3 separate regions of the Homo sapiens genome follow, and regions 2 and 3 are each linked to region 1. The links are contacts of gene promoters, found by promoter capture Hi-C in blood cells and fetal thymus (Javierre and others, 2016). All regions are on one chromosome and are shown on one strand. The core of a region is centred on a gene start or on the middle of the fragment in contact, and the rest is flanking DNA. Distances in the headings are between cores, read along the strand shown.

Evidence for each region. The method cuts DNA at HindIII sites, captures the fragments that hold promoters and counts their contacts. A CHiCAGO score of 5 or more calls a contact.
Region 2: a fragment that was not itself captured here is called in contact with the fragment with the promoter of DISP1 in region 1 in 5 of 17 cell types (endothelial precursors, megakaryocytes, total B cells and 2 more); the score reaches 9.4 in endothelial precursors.
Region 3: a fragment that was not itself captured here is called in contact with the fragment with the promoter of DISP1 in region 1 in 2 of 17 cell types (endothelial precursors and megakaryocytes); the score reaches 6.4 in endothelial precursors.

Annotation. Positions count from the first base shown.
Region 1 is chr1:222,812,710-222,816,436 of GRCh38, reverse strand. DISP1 (dispatched RND transporter family member 1) reads right to left here and starts at 1,398. Exons shown (of 9, transcript NM_001377229.1): 1 at 1,359-1,398. RefSeq lists silencers at 1,438-1,537, 1,628-1,707 and an enhancer at 1,948-2,007. The HindIII fragment of the contact is 6,781 bases long and covers 1-2,630 here.
Region 2 is chr1:223,074,220-223,078,013 of GRCh38, reverse strand. It overlaps LOC124904521 (a long non-coding RNA gene), which reads left to right and starts at 3,021. Exons shown (of 2, transcript XR_007066891.1): 1 at 3,021-3,108. The HindIII fragment of the contact is 2,375 bases long and covers 1,112-3,486 here.
Region 3 is chr1:223,098,987-223,102,991 of GRCh38, reverse strand. All of the region lies in intron 1 of LOC107985323 (a long non-coding RNA gene), which reads left to right. Among named protein-coding and RNA genes, the nearest start is that of TLR5, 42 kb to the left of the region's middle. The HindIII fragment of the contact is 4,316 bases long and covers 1-4,005 here.

The DNA of each region.
Region 1 (3,727 bases), core at 149-2,648:
ATCAGTGACAGTGTTATGATTCTTCCTAGCTACCTTGCTCACTTTGTGGCAAAAATCCAATTCACTTACTACCTACTTAAAAGCTAGGAGAATCTTTGTAATTACACTGAGTGAAACACTATATTATGTAGATTAGGAAGCACATATTAATCACATCCAATAAAACATAAATGCAAGGTAAATAATAACTAAATCAATAATTACCTTTGGTAATAATAATGAGCCCACATACCAAACACTGGCCACTGGGGAAAACTAAATGTGCTAATGTGCGTGTAACAACAGATCTTGGGTTATCAATATTTTTAAAAAACACTGACAATGGCAAATATTTATATATATATATATATATATATATATATATTTCCTTACAGCAGAAATAAAAAGGAACAGTAAAATCTTAAGAACTGCTAGTAATTTGCTGCACCCTGATGTAAAATTGCCTTTATTGGTTAAACTAAAAGACTAAACCCAACAAAATAGCTTTTAGAAAAAATGTGTTAGAAAGTTGGACAGAAAAACAATGAGTTGAAACTGCAAACATTGACAGCACTGGCTTTCCATGTGATTATCACCATAATTCTGAACGCATTTAGTTCATCCCATGACAAGGGAAATAAGACAAGCTAAACTCTGCAGGGTAGAGAAGAGTCCAAAAGGAAAACTTTGGTTGTCTTCCTTGGGTGAAGAGAACTCTCAACTACTATCAGTTTGACAAAGACACGCAGAATCTGGGTGAAGCAAGAATTCGAGCGGTCCCTAGGAATATACAATATTTTCCCGAAATCCACACGCGCGGAGCGGGATATATTTCTAAAAACAAAAAACAAACTGCATGAATTGCAAATGAAGCAATAGGAGTTCAGCATCCAATAGGTGGCTGGTCATCTTTCTGGTTCGTTAGGTCAAGACGTCCTTCTCACCTACGACCCTCAGAGAAGGACTGACTCCCTCCTCTGTAACCTCTCCCTGGAAGCCAACCTTTGCCATCTCCTGCCATCCTCTCAGTCAATCCGCCAGGACCCGGGACACGCCCCCACGAATGACTACTTTCCTCCGAGATGCAACTCTGCCCCGTGTCATCCGCAACCTCCAGTCTCAGGGCCTCTTTGGCCTCAGGGTCCCCGGTGCCTCCCTCCTCAGTCCCTAAAGGCTGCCCTTAGGGCTCTCCTGGTTCCCCGTTCTCAGTCCTGGCCCTTCTCTCAAGCCTGGGGTCCCGGATTTCCCTCCACACGCGCGGGAGATGCCGACTCTCCCGTCCCTACCCGGTCTCCCAGTCCCGCGGCGCCGGGCGGCGGCGCGCCGAAAGGCATCCACTGAGGAAACAAGTGCCTGCAACGTTCCGGCTGCGAACTCACCTCCAGTCCGGGCTCTCGGATGCTGGCCCGGAGCCGGGCTTCCGCCTGGCGCGGTCCGCGTCGCGAGCGGGACCGGAAGTCCCGCCCCTCGCCCGCTCCCGGCCCGCTCCCGGCCCGCTGGCCTCGCTTGACTACCGCTCCCCGGGAGAGGGATCGCCGGCGGCGGGCGACGGGCGGCTGGCAAGGGGCAGAGGGCAGAGGGGCTTGGCTTGAAAGGGCGAGGCAGGCGCCAAAAAAATTCCCTCTCGCGCTCCTGCTCTTTCTAGTGTATCCATCGACCAGTGTGCAAATGCTTGACCAAGCGTCTATTCTGCCCAAGCCCAGTGAGGCACAAGATGACTCAGACACTGACCTCTGTCCTCACAATCTAGTTAAAAGTTGACATAAGTAAAAACAGAAGTAAATCACGCCACAAGACAGTGTTTCTTCTTTCATTATTCAGATTATTATCACCTGCTATATAGGCCTGTGAACAACCAGGCACTGCTGTAGGGGCTGGGGATAGAGCGAACAGAGGACAGCCCCACTCTCGTGAGGCTTACACTCAGGGCGAGGAACTAGCTATAGAATAAATCGAACAGCGGCGGCTCCCTCGGGAGGCTTATGCACAGAAACAAAAATATATAAGCAATGAAACCATCAAGTGTTAGAGGCACTCTGGTGGTGCTGTAGGGAACGGTGCAATGTAGAGAGCTGGGCGGAGAAGGCTTTCTAGAAATAATGACTCTTCAATTGAGACTGAAATAAATGATGAATAAGAGTTAAAGGACAGGCACAGTGGAGAAGGGCATGCAGAGAAGAAGGACGTTATGGAGTGAGAGCTTGGCTTGTACCGGTAGCTGGCCAGGAGTTAAGCAAAGTGTCAGATGGCAGATGCAAGAGCAAGCATAATGAGAAGAGACAAGGCCAAATCATGAAGAACGTTGTGCCCTATGCTTAAAAATTTTGGACTTCAGAGACTCCGTGCAACGGAATCCGTGGGGTCATCTAAGGGAATAGACAAAACAGTGAGTCATGGGGTTGACTAGGGGGATTGTCCTAGTCATCAAAGAAAAATAATACATCATGAATAGCATGTTTTATCCTTGAGGGTGCTTTCTTGAACTGCCATACCCAGATGTAAAGGCAATAGACGGCTACCACAACCCTATAAAGGCAGGACCACAAGGGATCATACCCCTCAGGTTGCTGCATTGAGCAAATCACCCCAACCAACTGAGATGCTAACTGAAGTCACAGGGAACTATGGAATGGGCCCAGAAGAAAGAAGCTTCAACACCAGCTACAGTAATGAGGACTGTTGCATTTTTTGTTTGTTTTCTTTGCTACCAGTGTTTAATAAATACTCTCTTGCACACCAAGCCCTTTCTTTGCCTTTTTAAAAAGGAATGGTATAATACATACATTTTTCTTTTTTTCTCCTTTTGCCAGCAAAAGGCCATACATTGCAATATATGGAGATAGGATTACAGTAGAAGAAAATGAGGAATGGATATCGTGTAGAAAGTCTGTACTTAGAGGGCATAACATCAACTCTAAGTGAAGTAAAAGGTCACGCGTTTGGGTTTTCTCCCATTGGGAAGGTTAGTAGTCCATTTGTGGTGATACTTGAAATAACTGATTCACATAGCGGCAAGGTGTATTTTTGAAAGGATGGAAAGAAGAGAGTGTGTATGTGGTGTGATGTGGGGGGTGTGTGTGTGTGTGTGTGTGTGTGTGTGTGTGCCCACGCTGGGTGCCAAGAAGTAGAATGTAATAGACACTCTGTGAAATGTTTCCTTATAGCTTCTCACAATTCCTTTTTTTGTAGGAATGGCTGAAATACATAGAGGCAGTCCTTTTATGGGCCACATATGCACAAGCGACCATGTCCTAGTGTGACCAGCTACTCTGGTTTGCTAAAGACAGGGGGATACCAGGATGCTGGACTTTCGGTGCTTAAACTGGGATAGTTTTGCGAAAACTGAGACAAGTTGGTTGCGCTACCATGTCCCTTGTCTACATAACAGATTAATTCAGAGGTGGGCATATCCTAAACCAGACCATTTAGACTCTTTGCCCCAGAAATCTTAAATGAGGCATAGAGAAACACAGAGAGAATATAGTTACTCAGTAGAACTGAGTCACAAATGGCAGTTCCCTAAAGAAAAAATCTATTAACACCCTTTGCCAAAGATCCAGGACCTGCCCTGTTTCCTTTGGTTATAGGAGATATCCCTGTATAATTCCAAAACTTTTTTTTTTTTGGCTAGTCAAAGAAGATTGCTGCTGCTTGCAACCAAAATAATCTTAAGGAGCATATTCATTTCCAATCCTTGTTTAAGATAATGTGCTCCAAGAGTCTCTTCTGAATGGGCACTGAGCTGAAC
Region 2 (3,794 bases), core at 1,050-3,549, 260 kb before region 1:
CCTGGCCTTCGTGTCTGGCCTCACTGTGTGCCTGTGTGGCTCTCCCTGTCTGCCTCTGTAGCCTCCAAGGAGGACTGCTGGATTCATTTTGGTGTCTCAGAGCCTCTACTGCAGGCAATGCCTTTTATGTAATAGTTGTTCAATGAGTGAGAAGTTAAATGAAAGAATTAGAGCTTCATAGCGTGGAGTGATGGGGAAGGACCTTAACCTTGCCTAGAACCCAGAAGTTAGACTCCAGGCCGGAGGCCTCGCCACACCCAGCCCCACCATTCACAACTTGAGCCACAGACCCTGCGCGAGGCACAGGTACCGACAGATGGCCACGAGGGGCGCCACGACACTCATCCCCAGCTGCCCTCGGGTTGCACACTCAGGGTTGGGCGGGCCACCTCTCTCCCTGTGGACGTGGAGTGGCCCGCACAGAAGGATGGAAGGGAGGGGTTCCTGGAACAGAGCCCATCACTTGCTGCAGAGGCATCCCCTGAACTGGCCCGCTGTGGGGTTCCTTCCTTTCCCAGGGGCTATTATTGGTATTTCCCACTCATCTTCAAGACTGAAAAGGAATCTTTGAAAACCACAAGAAGGGGAGGGGGCGTGGAGAGGAGCTCCCTAAGCCAACTCCTTCTGGAAGTCACTGATCTCCCAACAGGAAAGCTGGTCTTTCCTGTTTAGACATCGTGTCTGGCAAGAGGAAATCAAGACCAAAGTAACAATAATAATTACATAAACCTATGATATGTTAACATCACTAGTATCAAAAATGGTTCTGTTTGCATAGAGCCTGCCAGGCACACCAGGGCACACAGCCTGATGGTGGGCTGCTGTGGTCAGAGCTGTGAAATTTAGAAGGCTTCACTAGGGATGGGGAGACCCTTGAAGACTCTCCAGGACACACACGCCTGCGGTAACCTTCAGGATCAGGGGAACGTGACTTCAGGCAGAAGGAGAAAGCCGCATGAAATAGAATGAGTGTGGGCTTTGCTCTCTGCCCAGGTTCAAATCGCAGCCCCAGCTCCTGACAGCTGTTTGACTTTGAACTAGCTGCTCGAATTCTCTGATACTAGCCTCCTTGATACCAAGAGGGAGGTCATACCCAGCTCATATTGAAGCTTTGTGGGATGAGAAACTAGCAGCATGTCTGACACATATGACCCTACCCTTGGACGTTTATGAGCCATGCCGAGCCAATGCAAAGAAATACGTAAGCCAAAGGCACAAGCTGTATTTAAGATTGAGAAGAGGAAGGTTGGGACAAGTGACAAAATGACTTAGTTTCCAATGGGAGAAAACATCTCATATAGGGGCCATTTGATTCTCTGGCTTTGCCCAGGGAATCCCTCAGGCCTTCAGTCAGTGCCAGCAGGAAGGCATCTGCCTGGGGTGGCCTGCAGTGCCAGCCTCACACTGCCCCACGCGGGTGTGTGCCCAATGCAGCTTCACTCAGACGTGTTGGCTGAGAGCTGGCTCCATACCAGGCAGCATGCTAGGCATATGTCTGTATATTCCAAAGGAAGGAGGAAAAGAGAATGTGAATGGTTCCAGGGAATCCAGCGCTGGCTGGGAGGAACAATCAGCTATTCCTTATCTGTGGAGAGCGGTCATTTCACTAGCATTTCAGCTAACAGTACCCCCGAGGGACTGCTAGTTAAGTACAAGAAGGCAGCCCCTGGGTGTTAGGGTTGTGCACATACAGTCTGTTTGATTTTTTTTTTTCAATTCTTTTAGCATGTTTCAACTGAAATCATGTTTATAGAATGAACCAATAAAGAAGGAAACTGAGGCACACTGGGAGGAAGAGACTGCCCCAAATTCACACAGCAAGTGATTTGCAAATCCAAGAGTGAACCTAGAGAACTTGTCAATGCCCGGGTAATTCAGGCGAATGTCTCCTGTCCATTCATTCTGCAGGGCTGCCTTGGCTGAAACTGCCTTTGCAAAAATCACAACTGAGAAAATTATGACAGTGAAAGATACCAGACCTAACTGACACCATCTTGCTTCCAACCTCTAAACGGTCCTTGTTCATTCCTGGACATAGTCAGAACCAGCTTTGGGAAGGAATTTAGTTTATAGTTTAAATAATAGCCCTTCCTAAAAGGCTAAACTATTCTTATAAAACAAATGACAGGCCACCAGCCACCAAGTCAGGAAGAGAAGGGCTGGAATTCTAAATATTACCAGCCATTATTCCAGAGGTGATAAGATTTGCAACTTCCCCAGTTACTTTTGGAGGTAACATCACTATTGTGAATCTAAGATTGGCCTTTTGAGATGAGTTTTCAGGTGCATTTCTAACAACTGGATGGCCCCACCTGGACCTGCTAACCAGTTCTGTGGCCCCCACCCAGGAACTGACTCAGCAGAAGAGAACAGCTTTGACGCTCTGTCATTTCATTGCGGAGCCAACCAATCAATACTCCCAATTCACTAGCCCCCTACCCACCAAATTATCCTTAAAAACTCTGATCCCCGAGTTTTTGGGGAAACTGATTTGAGTAATAATAAAACTCCATTCTCCTGCACAGCCAGCTCTGCATAAATTACCCTTTCTCTATTGCAATTCCCCTGTCTTGATTAATCGGCTCTGTTTAGGCAATGGATAAGGTGAACCTGTTGGGCAGTTACATGGCTTTTTAATCTAACACTTGTTTTTATTTAACTGTGTCAGATATCTTCATGAGACAATTAAGACATTTTAAAAAATGTGTTTACTGAACCTAAGAAACTGCGAAACAAGATATCTAAACAAAAAGCTCATTGTTGAACTATACACTTTTAATACACTGCTGATGAACTAAGAGCCTTTTTAAGGACATTGAATAAACAAGCAGTTGAGTTTAGAGCAGACATTCATCCAGGCGCACGCTCCTCATTTTCAGGCTGCCAGTGGACACGAAGCGTCCACACCCCCACCCACATCCACAAATACTCGCTGCCCCCACAGGACAAACATGTCACAATGGCCCTGCACAGCCCATGACTGTGCAGTCATTTGCTGCTTTCTCAAGCCCACAGAAAGCAAAATATCTCTTTCTAAAGAAAGAAGTGACCGCCAAGCATGGAGTGTTGGGAGTCTTGCCGCTCCTGCAGCTGTGGTCACCACTCCAGGTGCTGTCTGTCCCCCAGGATCTTGGTCACCTCTGGTCACTCAGGCCCCTCCCCACCACCCCCTGACCCCCCCATCTCCCATACACACCCTCCCAGACCCTGCAAACCAACAGCTTCATTCAACACATCAGGGGCTCCACCACAGCCAGGAAGTTTGCTCTCCCTTCACTTCTATTTTGGGAACTTGGACTCAGCCCTGGAATTTTACAAGCCTAGGAGGAATTGGCTGGGCCTTAGCACTTTCCTTTATCCCTGCCTCCTCTCCCCACAAAGCCCCTTTTCCTCTGGATCCCCAGGACGGAATGCACAGCACCCTTGGGCAGCAGGTGGGCTGCAGAAAGGGGACAGGCGGGAGGAGCAAGGCTGCAGCCCCAAGCTTTCCAGGGAGAGTCTAAAAATTTTGTGATTTTCTGCAGCAGAAGTGTAAGGTCTGTAATCTCCTCTGCTAGAATATCTGGGAAGATTCCCTTAGCCAATATTAGGGCAAAATAAACTGTCTTCTTGGTCGGGAGTGGTGGCTCACTCCTGTAATCCCAACACTTTGGGAGGCCGAGGCAGGTGGATCACTTGAGGTCAGGAGTTCGAGACCAGCCTGGCCAACATGGTGAAACCCCGTCTCTACTAAAAATACAAAAATTAGCCAGGCACGGTGGCAGGCGCCTGTCATCCCAGCTACTCTGGAGGCT
Region 3 (4,005 bases), core at 830-3,329, 290 kb before region 1:
GCTGGTGTGGGGAGTTCCTGGCTGGCAAGGGACAACCCCAATGTGAGCCTCGGGTGGGGAGTTCCCCAGCTGGCTTCTTCTGGGCTTGGAATAAGAATGCGGAGTTGCAGTTTTAGCTGTGTGTTGTTTCACCCCTTGGAGCTTCAGGGTTTGGTTTGTTGTTGTTGTTGTTTTCCCCCAGCATTAAAATGTATATAGAATATAGAACTAATTAGCACAGTTCCTAGCACAAAATAAATGCACATTAACACCTGGTAGTGCAGAGAGAGAAACTATGTTGTAGAAAAGTTGACCATCTAGGTTCTCTGGGGTCCACAGGTCTGCTTCTAGTTCCCCTGGTCTGGACACAGTTCCTTGTCCCTGGGGTGAATCTAATCTCTTTGGAGGTCAAGGCAATACGTCTGGAAATCTGAGAAGAAAATCAGTAAACTGGGTTTTTCTTAAACATACAATAAAATGGATACATTCTAAGTGTAAATTTCAATGTCTACACCCATGTAACCATTACCTCCATCAGCATATAGAATGTTTCCTTTACTCCAGAAAGTTGCCTCTTTCGCTTTCCTGCCAATCCTTACCCCTGCCCCAACTCAGACAACCACTGTTGTAATCTATCAACATAGATTGATTTTGGCTGCTCTAGAACTTCACATCAATGGAATCATTCAATCAACATTTTGCATCTGTCTTCCTTTACGTAACATAATTTTTTGAGATGCTTCCAGGATATTATAATATCAGTGAGTTTTCCTTTTTATTGCAGTGTGGATATATTACAATTTATCCAGTCTCCTGTTGAGGGACACCTGGGTTGTTTCCAGTTTTTAGCTATTAGAAATAAAGTTACTATGTCCATTCATTTACAAATCTTTTTGTGGACATGTTTTCCTTTCTCTTGGATAAATATGTAGGAGTAAAATTGCCAGGTCATAAGGTAGGTGTATGTTTTCCTGTTGTATTAGTCTGTTTTCATGCTGTTGATAAAGGCATACCTGAGACTGGGCGATTTACAAAAGAAAGAGGTTTATAGGCCAGGCACGGTGGTTCACACCTGTAGTCCCAGCATTTTGGGAGGCTGAGGTGTGTGGATCACCTGAGGTCAAGAGTTTGAGACCAGCCTGGCCAACATGGCGAAACCCCGTCTCTACTAAAAATACAAAAATTAGCCAGGCATGGTGGCATGTGCCTGTAATCCCATCTACTAGGGGGGCTGAGGCAGGAGGATCACTTGAACCCAGGAGGCGGAGGTTGCAGTGAGCTGAGATTGTGCCACTGCACAATCTGCACTGCAGCCTGGGCAACAGAGCAAGACTTCATCTCAAAAAAAAAAAAAAAAGAAAGAGGTTTGTTGGACTTACAGTTCCATGTGGCTGGGGAGGCCTCACAATCATGGTGGAAGGTGAAAGGCATGTCTCACATGGCGGCAGACAAGAGAAGAGAGCTTGTGCAGGGAAACTCCCCCTTACTACACCATCAGATCTCATGAGACTCATTTGCTATCATGAGAACAGCACAGGAAAGACGTGACCCTACGATTCAATTACCTTTCACTAGGTCCCTCCCACAACACATGGAAATTCAAGATGAAATTTGGGTGGGGACACAGCCAAACCATAACATTCTGCCCCTGGCCCCTCCCAAATTTCATGTCCTCACATTTCAAAGACAATCATGCCTTCCCAACAGTCCCCCAAAGTCTTAACTCATTTTAGCATTAACTGAAAAGTCCAGAGTCTAATGTCTCATCTGAGACCAGGCAAGTCCCTTCTGCCTATGAGCCTGTAAAATCAAAAGCAAGTTAGTTACTTCCTAGATACAATGAGAATACAGGCATTGGGTAAATACAGCCATTCCAAATGGGAGAAATTGGCCAAAATTAAGGGGTTACAGGACCCATGCAAGTCTGAAATCCAACAGGGTGGTCAAATCTTAAAGCTCCAAAATGATCTCCTTTAACTCCATGTCTCACATCCAGATCACGCTGATGCAAGAGGTAGGTTCCCATGGTCTTGGGCAGCTCTGCCCCTGTGGCTTTGCAGTGTACGGCCTCTCTCCCAGCTGCTTTCATGGGCTGGCATTGAGTGTCTGCAGCTTTTCCAGACACACAGTACAAGCTGTCAGTGGATCTACCATTCTGGGGTCTGGAGGACAGTGGCCCTCTTCTCACAGCTTCACTAGGTGGTACTTCAGGAGGGACTCTCTGTGGGGGTTCTGACCCCACATTTCCCTTCTGCACTGCCCTAGCAGAGGTTCCCCATGAGAGCCCTGCCCCTGCAGCAAACTTCTGCCTGGACATCCAGGTGTTTCCACACATCCTCTGAAATCTAGGCAGAGGTTCCCGAAACCTCAATTCTTGACTTCAGTGCACTCGCAGGCTCAAAACCATGTGGCAGCTGCCAAGGCTTGAGGCTTGCACCCTCTGAAGCCACGGCCCGAGCTCTACATTGGTCCCTTTCAGCCACAGCTGAAGCAGCTGGGACCAAGTCCCTAAGCTGCACACAACATGGGGAACCTGAGCCCAGCCCATGAAACCACTTTTTCCTTCCAGGCTTCTAGGCCTGTGATGGGAGGGGCTGCCATGAAGACCTCTGACATGCCCTGGAGACATTTTCCCCATTGTCTTGGGGATTAACATTTGGCTTCTCGTTACTTATGCAAATTTCTGCAGCGGGCTTGAATTTCTCCTTAGAAAATGGGATTTTCTTTTCTATCTCATTATCAAGTGGCAAATTTCCTGAACTTGTATGCTCTGCTTGCCTTATAAAACTGAATGCCTTTAACAGCACTCAAGTCACCTCTTGAATACTTTGCTGCTTAGAAATTTCTTCTGCCAGATACCCTAAATCATCTCTCTCAAGTTCAAAGTTCCACAGATCTCTAGGGCAAGGACAAAATGCCACCAGTCTCTTTGCTAAAACATAGCAAGAGCCACCTTTGCTCCAGTTCCCAACAAGTTTCTCATTTCCATCTGGGACCACCTCAGCCTGGACTTAATTGTCCATATCGCTATTAGCATTTTGGGCAAAGCCATTCAACAAGTCTCTAGGAAGTTCCAAACTTTTGTACATTTTCCTGTCTTCTTCTGAGCCCTCCAAACTGTTCCAACCCCTGCCTGTTACCCAGTTCCAAAGTTGCTTCCACATTTTTGGGTATCTGTTCAGCAGCACCCCACTCTACTGATATCAATTTACTGTATTAGTCCATTTTCACACTGCTGATAAAGACATACCCGGACTGGGCAGTTTACAAAAGAAGGTTTATTGGACTCACAGTTCCATGTGGTTGGGGAGGCCTCACAATCACGGCAGAAGGTGAAAGTCACATCTTAGATGGTGGCAGACAAGAGAAAAGAGCTTTTCAGGGAAACTCTCCCTTATAATACCATCAGATCTTGTGAGACTCATTTGCTATCACGAGAACAGCATGGGAAAGACCTGCCTCCATGATTCAATTACCTTTCACTGGGTGCCTCCCACAACACATGGGAATTCAAGATGAGATTTGGGTGGGGACACAGCCAAACCATATCACCTGTGAAAGAAACCACCAAGCTGTTTTCTAAAATAATGGTAACATTTTATACTTCTCCCAGCTATGTATGAGGTTCCAGTTGCTCCACATCCTTGTCAACACTTGATATGGTCAGTCTTTTGCATTTTAGCCATCCTATTGGGTGTGAAGTGGTAGCTCATAGTAGTTTCATTTGCATTTCCCTAATGACTAATATGCTGAGTACCTCTTAACATGCTTATTAGCCATTCATATATCTTCTTTTATGGAGTGTCTGTTCAAGATTTGTGCTCATTTTAACTGAGTTGCTTGTCTTTTTAGTATTTATTTGTAGGCATGTTTTATGTATTCAGGTACAATTCTTTATCAGATATATGTATTGCTATTATTTTCTCACACTCTGTGGTTTGCCTTTTCATTTTATTAACAATCAGAAAGTTTGACATTTTGATGAAGTCCAATTTATCTATTTATTTTATGGTTTGTGTTCTTGTA